Linked DNA regions of Homo sapiens: regions 2, 3 and 4 are each linked to region 1. The links are contacts of gene promoters, found by promoter capture Hi-C in blood cells and fetal thymus (Javierre and others, 2016). All regions are on one chromosome and are shown on one strand. Each heading gives the region's core, a stretch centred on a gene start or on the middle of the fragment in contact. The rest is flanking DNA. Distances are from core to core; before and after follow the strand shown.

Region 1 (2,877 bases), core at 113-2,612:
AGTAAAAGGAATGGAAAGTATAAAGGCATGATGCAAGGAAACAAGTGAAAAGGTATCTTAAGAAAACAGATAATAGGCTGTTTCGAATAGAGTATGAGTATGGGTGAGCACTGCAAAATAGTAGAATAAATTGTTGAGTTGGATCTCATTTGGTAATGCATTTGAAATAAAGGGATTTGCTTTGAACCAAGACTGGTTCTAAGCCTGGAACTACAGAATAAGTTCCAAAATTGGGTGTCTAAGAACTCTGAATACCTCTCCAATATTTACCAGTGGTCAAGTCAAACTCGTTTTGCTCATTAATGGTATAAGTCGGCTGGAGCTGAGAATTGGCATTATAGAGAATGTTTTTGAGACAGAGTCTTGCTCTGTCACCCAGGATGGACTTCAGTGGCATGATCTCAACTCACTGCAACCTCTGCCTCCTGAGTTAAGTGATTCTGCTGCCTCAACCTCCCGAGTAGCTGGCGTTACAGGTACCCGCCACCATGCCTGGATAATTTTTATTTTTTTTAGTAGAGATGGCTTGCACCATGTTGGACAGGCTAGTCTCAAACTCCTGACCTCATGTGTTCTTCCCACCTTGGCCTCCCAAAGTGCTGGGATCACAGGTCACTGCACCCAGCCTAGAGTATTTAATATACATTCATATAAAAAAGAAGCACTGGTTTCATAAAACAAATGTACATTATATGAGATTCCACTTCATAAAAGCATGTATGTGTACCCCAACACTAAATTGGCCCTTTTAACAAAATATCAGACTTTGTCCTACTTAACTGGAAAGATTATCTATATTTTATAAAGAAGAGAAATAACATAATAGTAAGGCTGTGATTTCCTCTTTTTTGCAAAAACTATTTTTGAAAAGTATTACTGAATTGATAACATATATATGGAGAGATTTAAAATACTAGATAAGGGAGCTTATTCCAATGAATTTACAGAAAGGTAGGTATTTTAGTCAACTAAAAATATAAATAAAAATTATCAATTCACTTATTTGGATACAGCAGTCATGCCAGAGTTTATAAATATAGTGAAATCACTGAAGATTTTTTTTTACCCCCAAAACTGAAAAAAATGGCAGTGTACCTTGTGAATTTTTTAAATGAAAAAAGAATACGAAATGATGAAGGCCCTTATCTGATGATGACAAACTAGAAAACTGAAATGTAAAGGGGAAAATGTGAGTATGTGTTTCCCTCCAGCAAATTAAAGACAGGGTACATAGATTCAAGAGGTTGCGCTTTGAGGATAAAAAGCTGGGCCCTGTGCAGTTTTCCAAGACAACCTCTGGGCGCCGCTGTCGACCAAAAGGAAGTGAAGGCTTCTCAATTCTGCAGGAGCGTCAGGCAGGGTGCCTTCCTGCTTTGTCCGGTGCACTGAGCACAGACGCTGCTCCTGTTCACCCTCGAGCGCCTAACTAATAAGTCCTAAGCTCAAATCACAGAAGTCCAGGGTGCTGCCATTTCTTTTTGAAAAACATCCCAGAGGAAAGAAGCTCCGCGGAGAGTTCCTGAAATGCAGAGAGCCAGAGAAGCCGAAATGATGAAAAGTCAGGTACTGTTTCCCTTCCTGCTGTCTTTGTTCTGCGGGGCCATCTCCCAGCAGATCCGATACACGATTCCAGAGGAGCTAGCCAACGGCTCACGGGTGGGGAAACTTGCCAAGGATCTGGGGCTCAGTGTCCGGGAGTTGCCAACTCGAAAACTGCGGGTTAGTGCAGAGGATTATTTCAACGTTAGTTTGGAGAGCGGGGATTTGTTAGTGAACGGTAGGATAGATCGAGAGAAGATTTGCGGAAGGAAACTTGAGTGTGCACTAGAATTCGAAACGGTCGCTGAAAACCCAATGAATGTTTTCCACGTGGTTGTTGTAATCCAAGATATTAATGACAATGCACCACGTTTCGTTGCAAAAGGCATTGACTTAGAAATTTGTGAGTCAGCCTTACCCGGGGTAAAATTCTCTCTGGATTCTGCTCAAGATGCAGATGTGGAAGGCAATTCACTGAAGTTATACACCATCAACCCCAATCAATACTTCTCTCTGTCAACGAAGGAAAGTCCTGATGGAAGTAAATATCCGGTATTACTGCTGGAAAAACCTCTAGACAGGGAACATCAGAGCTCTCATCGCTTAATCCTGACTGCCATGGATGGCGGGGACCCGCCTCTAAGCGGCACCACCCATATCTGGATCCGAGTTACGGATGCCAATGATAATGCTCCCGTGTTTAGCCAGGAGGTATACAGGGTTAGCCTCCAAGAAAACGTACCGTGGGGAACCTCCGTGCTGCGGGTGATGGCCACAGACCAGGATGAGGGCATTAATGCAGAGATCACCTATGCCTTCCTCAATTCCCCAATAAGTACCAGCCTCTTCAATCTCAATCCAAATACTGGCGACATCACAACCAATGGCACATTGGATTTTGAAGAGACAAGTAGATATGTGTTGAGTGTGGAAGCTAAGGATGGAGGAGTACACACAGCTCACTGTAATGTTCAAATAGAAATTGTTGACGAGAATGACAATGCCCCAGAGGTGACATTCATGTCCTTCTCTAACCAGATTCCAGAGGATTCAGACCTTGGAACTGTAATAGCCCTCATAAAAGTGCGAGACAAGGATTCTGGGCAAAATGGCATGGTGACATGCTATACTCAGGAAGAAGTTCCTTTCAAATTAGAATCCACCTCGAAGAATTATTACAAGCTGGTGATTGCTGGAGCCCTAAACCGGGAGCAGACAGCAGACTACAACGTCACAATCATAGCCACCGACAAGGGCAAACCAGCCCTTTCCTCCAGGACAAGCATCACCCTGCACATCTCCGACATCAACGACAATGCACCTGTTTTCCATCAGGCC
Region 2 (2,877 bases), core at 107-2,606, 610 kb before region 1:
AGGTCATTACGTTGCCCTCTTTTCCATCCATCTCAATCATAAAGAAAATCTTGCTTTCCGGTAAGCTAAAAGAGAGCTACCAAGTGGATATCAGGATATGTGGTAGCATAGTTTTTGGGGTGTAATTTTTCTCAGCTACGGAGTATACACTAACAGAGATACGATAAAAAAAAATGCCGGCCACCATAGGACAAATTGCTGAAAATGCTGCAATAAGTATTATGACACAGTAGAAGTCCTTAAATTCTCTCGCTCAAGTGGTTTTAGACAATCAAATTGCACCAGGTTTTCTCATTGCTAAACAAGGGGGAATTTGCATGATAGCCCACACCACTTGTTGCACTTATATCAACATTATAGGAGATTTAACAACCCATGTAGGTAAGATCACCCAACAGGCTGCCTGGTTACAGGAGGTACAAACCACAGATCCCCTTAATAACGTTTTTAGCTGACTCATTGCAGTATTAGAAATTACTTCCAATCCATCTTACAAACCCTTGTCATTATCATATCACTATCTTGTTCCTATTTTTGATAGTCAAAGTACTTATAAGATCTATAACCAACTACTTCAAGTCTGTCACTAAAACCAAAGTTATGGTAGCACAATGCATAGAAATGACAGACAACATAAACATAAACTTACCTTCTCAACTTTTCTGTTGTTACTGTTTTTCTAGTCTCAAAGGTTCAAAGGGTCTTAATAGCTGTCTGCCTCCTTCTTGCCTGGCCTAAAATATTCAACTGGTTGTAAGTCTCCTAGCCACATGAGTCCCACTGACAGACTAGATAGACCTGGGGCAGGTATCCACACCATCCTGGGAACGACATGGGACATGTTAGAAAATTTAGCCATCAATGCTGCCTATGGCAGATTTCAGCCTAAAGCTGGAAAGTGTGAAATAAAACTAAAGTCCCTAAGCCCCTAGGTGAAACAGAATGGACTTCTTGTTGCAAAAGAGACCCCAGAAACTTTGAAAACTGCATTCTATGGCTTTGGCAAGGCAAGAGGTCAGTCACACCTCAACACTCCCCTACCTTGTTAACTGCCTCAAAACTTTCCTTCCTACAATTAAACAGAAACGAGTTCCTAAAAAACTGTCTGGAAGATTTCTCCCTCAACCTCAAGAGACCTCTTGATGTCATGGCTGACCTCCCCTCTTTTATCGTGGTTTCACCATGACTACTGACCAGCCTTATTAAACATTCCATTGTTATACTGACCACCGACCACAGACTGATTGCACCTAGTCCACAGAGGCTGTGCACAAGATGCCTTTGTGTTCTGTTTCACCTTGTTATATATAAACAGCCACGTGCCACTTCACTTTACTATTAAATCCCCACCCCAAAATGAACATGGAACATATGTAACATATATGTTTATTCTCTTTGCATGCATTAGGGTTTTCTCAAATATTCATAGATTCTCCTATAAGCTACTGAATATGTACATATAGCTCATCTTGTTGGGCATAAGTCCCAGCTTCTCCCTTTTGTCTCTGAAGCAGATGCTTTTCATTTTGGCTGGATGTTTCATTTCCCAACCTGCAGATTGTAACCATTTATAGGAAATAAAACTCTCTTTTTTCTTCTTCCTCAAATCTCATGATCTTTTGTTAATACTTCCCTTCCCAGCAGGGGGGATTATATGAGAAGACTGGACTTAGACCTCTACCCAGTGGTAATGTGGCCATCCTCACTGTGGTGTCAGGGGAGCCAGAACTTCCATGCTTACCCAGCAGTAACAATGAGCTCCCTTCTTCAGGTGGCAATGGAGGCTCTGTGGGGAACCTGGACTTCTGCCTGCACCTGGCAGTAATTAGGTGACATCTCCTTCTTTCTCTGTTCCCCCTTCTGCCTAAATGGTATCAGAGAAATCCCACTAAAACAGAAGGTTTAAATAGGATCCAGAGTAGCGGAATATAATATGAACATATCCAGGTTTTAATGAAAAGTTACTTATCATACCAGAAGATCTCAAACAGAATGAAAAAATGACAATCAACAGATGCCAACATTGTGATGACAGAGATATTAGAATTATCTGACAGAAATTTTAAATTAGCCATTGTAAAAATGCTTCAATAAGCAATTATAAACATTCTTGGAATAAATGAAAAATAGAATGCATAAGCAAAGAAATAGATGATAAAAGAAGAACTAAATGGAAATTTTAGAACTGAAAAATATAATAACTGAAATAAAAACCTCAGTGGATGGGGTGGGTGGGTTCAGCAGCATAATGGAGGAGGCAGAAAAAATAACAAGTGAACTAGAAGATAGAATAATAAAAATTATCCAACCTAAACAACAGAGAGAAATTAGACGGAAAAAAATGAATAGACTTTGATAAGTTGTGGACAGAGCAACCGCTAACATGTTATACAAAGAGATGCACTAAAAAACATAGTATTAACTCAAAATAGAATTTTAGAAAATATTAAAGTAAGATGAAGGCACGAAGAATAAAACAGAGAAGTGAAAATCCAAATGAACAGGAGGCCAGGTGCAGTGGCTCACACCTATAATCCCAGCATTTTGGGAGGCCGAGGTAGGAGGATCACTTGAGGCCAGAAGTTTGAGACCATCTTGGGTGACATAGTGAGACCTCGTCTCTACAAAAAAATAAAAATAAAAAAGCCCCAAAATGAACAATTAGTAAAATACAACATAGATTTCCTTTAGTAACAATTCTCCTCATATCCTTCCTTATTCTTCTTTTTATTCTTCTCTATGATTACCTATTAATGATGAAATACTAGATGTTTTACTTTCTATTTCTTCATAGGATTCCTCTGAATATATTTCTTTCTTTCTCTCTCTCTCTCTTTTTTTTTTTTTTTGAGACAGAGTCTCACTCTGCTGCCCAGG
Region 3 (2,877 bases), core at 217-2,716, 600 kb before region 1:
TGGTGGTGGTGTTAGCATGGGGGCAAGGTGCTGGCAGGTGCAGGACTGTGTGCACCTTCTGTGTGTTTTCATGTAGGTGGAGGTGGTCACTTAGGGCAGTGGAGGGTCCACTCTTCTCTGCCTAGTTTCACTCTGGTGACAATGTTGGTGCTGGGGCAGGGTGCTGGTGGTGGCTGGGCTGCACTCTGACTACAGTGGAAGTATGATGGGGGAGGTGGTGGAGTGGACTGCACTTACCCCAGCAGCAGTGGCAGCAGAGGGTTCATGGGCACACACATGCTGGTAGGACAGGGAAGGTAAAATCCACCCATGCACATATACTCCAGCAATATAGGGGTGGTTGTGGGCCTGGAGTGAGGGGAGGGAGTGGGTGGGCTGGTGCAGTCTGCCAGCGCAGGAGCTATGATGCAGCCCCCCGAGGGCACTCGAGGCTGCATTGCAAGCAGGTGCAGCCAGGCTGGGGCCCTGCGAGAGGTCAGCAGGCAAAGGGGTGCTCACGTCAGACTGGCCTCATTTGGTGGGCAAGACTGCCCTGAGAGCTCATGTCCAACAGTTCCCCTAGGGCTAAAGTCTCTTATGGGAGCAAATCAAGCCTAGGGGGATGGGCATCCCTGATTATGCTTCACTACAGACATTACCACAACAAACCCTCTGGGCTCTGCACCAGCTGGAGTGCTTCCCCTACCACTTCTCTAAGCAGCTCTCCCTGCCAACTCAAGTGTCCATGGTGGTTGAGGGGTCTCCTCCTGCCCAGATTCCAGAGGCATGTGGTGAGGGCAGGTTGCTCCTTTCCAGTTCAACTTGCTCCTTCCCCTGGAGTAATTGGGGGCTTTTTTTCAGGTTTGATATCGGAGTAATGCTGGCCTCGCAGAATGAGTTTGAATGTATTCTCTCCTCTTTAGTATTTTGAAATATTTTGAGAATAATTGGTATTCTTCTTCTTTTTTTTTTTTTTTTTTTTTGGGACAGAGTCTTGCACTATCTCCCAGGCTGGAGTGCAGTGGTGCGATCTCGGCTCACTGCAAGCTCAGCCTCCCAGGTTCACGCCGTTCTCCTGCCTCAGCCTCCCGAGTAGCGGGGACTACAGGCGCCCGCCATCACGCCCGGCTAATTTTTTGTATTTTTAGTAGAGACGGGATCTCACCGTGTTAGCCAGGATGGTCTCGATTTCCTGACCTCGTGATCCACCCGCCTTGGACTCCCAAAGTGCTGGGATTACAGGCATGAGCCGCCGCGCCCGGTTTTTATTCTTCTTTAAATGTTGGTAGAATTCAGTAGTGAAACTACCAGGTATTGGGCTTTTCTTTGATGGGAGACTTTTTATTACTGATTCGATGTCCTTACTCATTATTGGTCTCTTGAAATTTTTTTATAACTTCATAATTCAATCTTAGTAGGTTGTATGTGTCCAGGAATTTATCTGTTTCTTCTAGGTTATTCCATTTGTTGGTGTAAAATTGTATAATAATGTCTTATGATCCTTTTTATTTCTGTGGTATCAGTTATAATGTCTCCTTTTTCATTATTGTTTTGTTTGTCTTCTCTCTATTTTCCTTAGGTAGTTTAGCTAACTGTTGGCTGGTTTTATTTTTTCTCAAAACACCAACTCTTAATTTTGTTGCTCTTTTGTATTTTTTTCAAGCCTCTATTTCATTTATTTATATGCTGATATTTTTTAGACGAGGCCTCACTCTGTCACCCAGGCTGGAATGCAGTGGTGTGATGTTGGCTCACTGCAACGTCTACTACCCAGGCTCAAGAGTTCCTCCCACCTCAGCCTCTTGAGCAGCTGAAACCACAGGCACCTGCCACCACGCCTGGCTATTTTTTTTTTTCATTTTTGGAAGAGATGGTGTTTCACCATGTTGCCCAGGCTGGTCTTGAACTCCTGTGCTCAAGTCATCCATATACCTCAGCCTCCCAAAGTGCTGGGATTACAGGCGTGAGCCACCTCATCTCACCTAAATTATGACCTTTATTACTTCCTTCTCCTAATTTTAGATTTAGTTTGTTCTTGTATTTCCAGTTCCTTGAGGTATAATGTTGGATTCTTTATTTGAAACCTTTCTTCTTTTTGAATGTAGGTGTTTATAGCTATAAACTTTTCTCTGAGAACTGCTTTTGCTGTATCCCATAAGTTTTGGTGCATTGTGTTTCCATTTCTATTTGTCCAAAAGGGATATTTAAATGTCTTTTAATTTCTTCATTGACTCATTGGTTTTTCAGGAGCATATTTACTCTCTATGAATGTATAAAGTTTCTGAAGTTCCTTCTGTTATTGATTTTTAGTTTTATATCATTGTGGTCAGAAGAGACAATTGATATGATTTCAATCTAAAATTTGTCAAGGCTTGTTTTGTGGCCTAACATATTATCTATTCTGTTAAATATTTTATGTACAGTTGAGAAGAATGTGTATTCTGCAGCTGTTGGATGGAATGTTCTGTAAATGTCTGCTAGGTCCATTTGGTCTACAGTGCAGTTTAAATCTGAAGTTTCTTTGTTGATTTTCTGTCTGGATGACCTGTCCATTGCTGAAAATGGATAGCAAATCCCCCTAATATCATTGTATTGCAGTCTTGTTCTCCCTTTAGATCTATTAATATTCGCTTTATATATTTAGGTGTTCCAATATTGGATGCTTTTGTATTTACAATTGTTATATCCTCTTGCTGAATTGAACTTTTATTATTATATAATGACTTTCATTGTCTCTTTTTAGAGTTTTTGACTTAAAGTTTATTTTATCTGATGTAAGTACAGCTATTCTTGCTCTCTTACAGTCTCCATTTGCATGGAAATTCTTTTTTTTTTTTTTTTTTGAGACAGAGTCTTGCTCTGTCGCCCAGGCTGAAGTGCAGTGGCATGAAATTATAT
Region 4 (2,877 bases), core at 166-2,665, 570 kb before region 1:
AGATGGCTTAGACAGCAGGCAGCTGCAGTGATGATGGCGGCTTCTCCTCCGGGAACTCATTACCTTTAGGCAGATTCCAGCAAGAGTGGCTGTTGAGAGTCTGTGCAGCTCTGTGGTTGGGACCCAAGGCCCTGGTAGTATGGGCTCACGAGTGGAATCTTCCGATCTGTGGGTTGCGCAGATCTGTGGAAAAAGCACGGTTTCCCAGGCAAGATAGCATACTCATTCACCACCTTCCTTGGTTGGGGGTGGGGTTTGCCCTTTCTCCATGTGGGCCGACGCAGCACCCTGCTTTTTCTTGCTCTTTATGGGTCACACCAACTGCCTAGTCAGTCCTGATGATAAAACCTGGATACCTCGATTGCCAGTGCAGGATTGACATGCTGTTTTGTTTCTTCTCAATTGGAGCCTCTAACTGCTGCTGCTTCTAGTTAGCCATCTTGGTCCCGCCAAGCTCAAGACATTTTTATAAGGGATGATACCAGCCATTTAGTCCGTCTCTAAAGAGCTGATGGTCCTAAGAATTTAACCATGTCAATGAAGAATTGTTTACATTATTAACTGAAGGAAAATGGATGCTCTTTAAAGATTTTTTAAGATTGGGAAATAAAGAAAAGTCAGAAATAATCACACTGGGGCAGGGCATGGTGGCCCACACTTGTAATCCCAGAACTGTGGGAAGCAGAGGCAGGTGGATCACTTGAGGTCAGGAGTTTGAGACCAGCCTGGCCAACGTGGTGAAAACCCATCTCTATTAAAATATAAAAATTACCTGGGCAAGATGGCACACACCTGTAATCCCAGCTACTCAGGAGGCTGAAGCAGGAGAATCACATGAACCTGGGAGGTGGAGGTTGCGGTGAGCCAAGATCGTGCCACTGCACTCCAGCCTGGGCGACAGAGTGAGACCCTGTCTCGAAAAAAAAGAAAAAGAAAAAAAAGAAATAACCAAACTGGGACTGTATGGTGGATGCCCAGTGATTTTACATGTCAGAATTCTTGTGAAATTGCCCTTGTTGAGAGGAATGAACATGAGCGTTGTTGTGGTGGAGAAGAACTCTATAGTAAAGCTTTCCTGGTTATTTTTCTGCTAAAGCTTGGCTTTCTTAAAACGTTCTCTGGCCCTCCAGAAAGTCAACAAGCAAAATACCTTTAAGATCTGCAAAACCTGTTGTCATGACCTTTGCTTTTTGTGTGTGTTGGGACCTTTGCTTTTGACCAGCCAGCTTTTACTTTGACTAGACAATTTACACCTCTTGATAGCATTGCTTTGATTGTGCTTTGTCTTCAAGATCATACTGCTAAAGCCATGTTTCATCTCCCGTTACAATTCTCCAAAGAAAGTATTCAGAATCTTGATCCCATTGTTTAAAATTTCCATGGAAACTCAGCTCTTATCTGCAGCTGATCTGGGTGCAATTTGGCACCCATTGAGCAGAAATTTGCTCAACTTTAATTTTTTAGTCAGAATTGTGTAAGCTGAACCATCTGGGATGTCTATGGTATTTCCTAGTGTATCTGCTGTTAATCATTGGCCCTGTTCAATTACGGTATGAACAGGACTAATTTGTTTCTTATAAAATGATATGGATAGCCTGTCACTACAGGCTTTATCTCCAACATCATCTTATCCCTTCTTAAAACAAGTTATTCATTTGTACACTACTTATTTCTTTGAGGCATTGTCCTCATAAACTTTTCATAAAGTGTCAATGATTTCATTATTCTTCCACCCAAGCTTCACCATAAATCTGATGTTTGTTCTTGCTTCAATTTTAGTGAATTCATGTTGCTCTAATCGGGAGTCTTTTCAAACGGAAGTCCTATCCTTCTTTGTGGCTTAAACTAGATCCTGCTCAGACATGTTATAACAAGTTAATACAAGTTTATTATGATGCAAACTTTATTTAAATTCATGCATATTTTTTCATAGTACGCATTTTTCATGAACTTTTTGAAGACCTCTTGTATTTTCTGGGAGAGATTAGTATTGGTGTTATTTTTTAAATTAAATTTTTTTTACCTCATACCATGTATTTTTTTTTATTCCTTTGAGACATCGTCTTTGGCCCATGGATTATTTAGAGATACGTTAACATCCAAGTGTTAGAATATTTTTCTTTTATCTTTATGTTATTGATTTCTCCTTTGATTCCATTGTGGTCACAGAACACACTCTGTATGATTTCATGTCTTTTACATTTACTGAGGCTTGTTTTATGACTCAGGGCAAGATGTGTTTTGAGATATGTTTCACTGGCACTTGGAAGAGTGTATTTTGAAATTTTTTTTTTTTGAGATGATGGAGTCTCTCTCTCTCTCTCTCTTTTTTTTTTTTGAGACAGAGTCTCACTCTGTTGCCCAGGCTGGAGTGCAGTGGCATGATCTTGGCTCTTGGCTCACTGCAACCTCCACCTCCCGGGCTCAAGTGATTCTCCTGCCTCAGCCTCCCAAGCAGCTGGGACTACAGGCATGCACCACCACACCTGGCTAATTTTTGTATTTTTAGTAGAGACAGGGTTTCACCATGTTGGCCAGGCTGATCTCGAACTCCTGACCTCAAGTGATCTGCTTGCCTCAGTGTCTCAAAGTGCTGGGATTACAGGTGTGAGCCACTGTGCTCAGCCCGTGATTGTTGAATAGTGTGTTCTATAAATGTCAATTAGTTTCCATTGGTTAGTGATGTTACTGAGTTCTTCTATATTCTTGCTGATTTTCTTTTTAGTTGTTCTGTTATTTGTTGAGAGAGAATTGTTGAAGTCTCCAATTATAATTGTGGATTTATCTGTTTCTCCTTTTAGTTCTATGAGATTTTGTTTCACAGCTCTGTTGTTTGGTGCATACACATTTAGGGTTGCCATGTCTTTTTGGTGGATT

The links. The method cuts DNA at HindIII sites, captures the fragments that hold promoters and counts their contacts. A CHiCAGO score of 5 or more calls a contact.
Region 2: a fragment that was not itself captured here is called in contact with the fragment with the promoter of PCDHGB1 in region 1 in 4 of 17 cell types (M1 macrophages, M0 macrophages, M2 macrophages and 1 more); the score reaches 10.7 in M1 macrophages.
Region 3: a fragment that was not itself captured here is called in contact with the fragment with the promoter of PCDHGB1 in region 1 in 4 of 17 cell types (M2 macrophages, M1 macrophages, erythroblasts and 1 more); the score reaches 9.4 in M2 macrophages.
Region 4: a contact is called between a fragment that was not itself captured here and the fragment with the promoter of PCDHGB1 in region 1, in 5 of 17 cell types (M1 macrophages, M2 macrophages, erythroblasts and 2 more). The highest score is 14.0, in M1 macrophages.

Annotation. Positions count from the first base shown.
Region 1 is chr5:141,348,737-141,351,613 of GRCh38, forward strand. It overlaps PCDHGB1 (protocadherin gamma subfamily B, 1), which reads left to right and starts at 1,363. Exons shown (of 4, transcript NM_018922.3): 1 at 1,363-2,877. The coding sequence starts at 1,525. The region is part of intron 1 of PCDHGA1 (protocadherin gamma subfamily A, 1); the gene reads left to right. The region is part of intron 1 of PCDHGA2 (protocadherin gamma subfamily A, 2); the gene reads left to right. All of the region lies in intron 1 of PCDHGA3 (protocadherin gamma subfamily A, 3), which reads left to right. It also overlaps PCDHG@. The HindIII fragment of the contact is 7,439 bases long and covers 1-2,877 here.
Region 2 is chr5:140,735,597-140,738,473 of GRCh38, forward strand. All of the region lies in intron 3 of LOC105378198 (a long non-coding RNA gene), which reads left to right. Among named protein-coding and RNA genes, the nearest start is that of ZMAT2, 37 kb to the left of the region's middle. The HindIII fragment of the contact is 5,793 bases long and covers 1-2,877 here.
Region 3 is chr5:140,753,339-140,756,215 of GRCh38, forward strand. The region is part of intron 3 of LOC105378198 (a long non-coding RNA gene); the gene reads left to right. Among named protein-coding and RNA genes, the nearest start is that of PCDHA1, 31 kb to the right of the region's middle. The HindIII fragment of the contact is 5,694 bases long and covers 1-2,877 here.
Region 4 is chr5:140,776,330-140,779,206 of GRCh38, forward strand. No RefSeq gene overlaps it. Among named protein-coding and RNA genes, the nearest start is that of PCDHA1, 8.4 kb to the right of the region's middle. The HindIII fragment of the contact is 642 bases long and covers 1,095-1,736 here.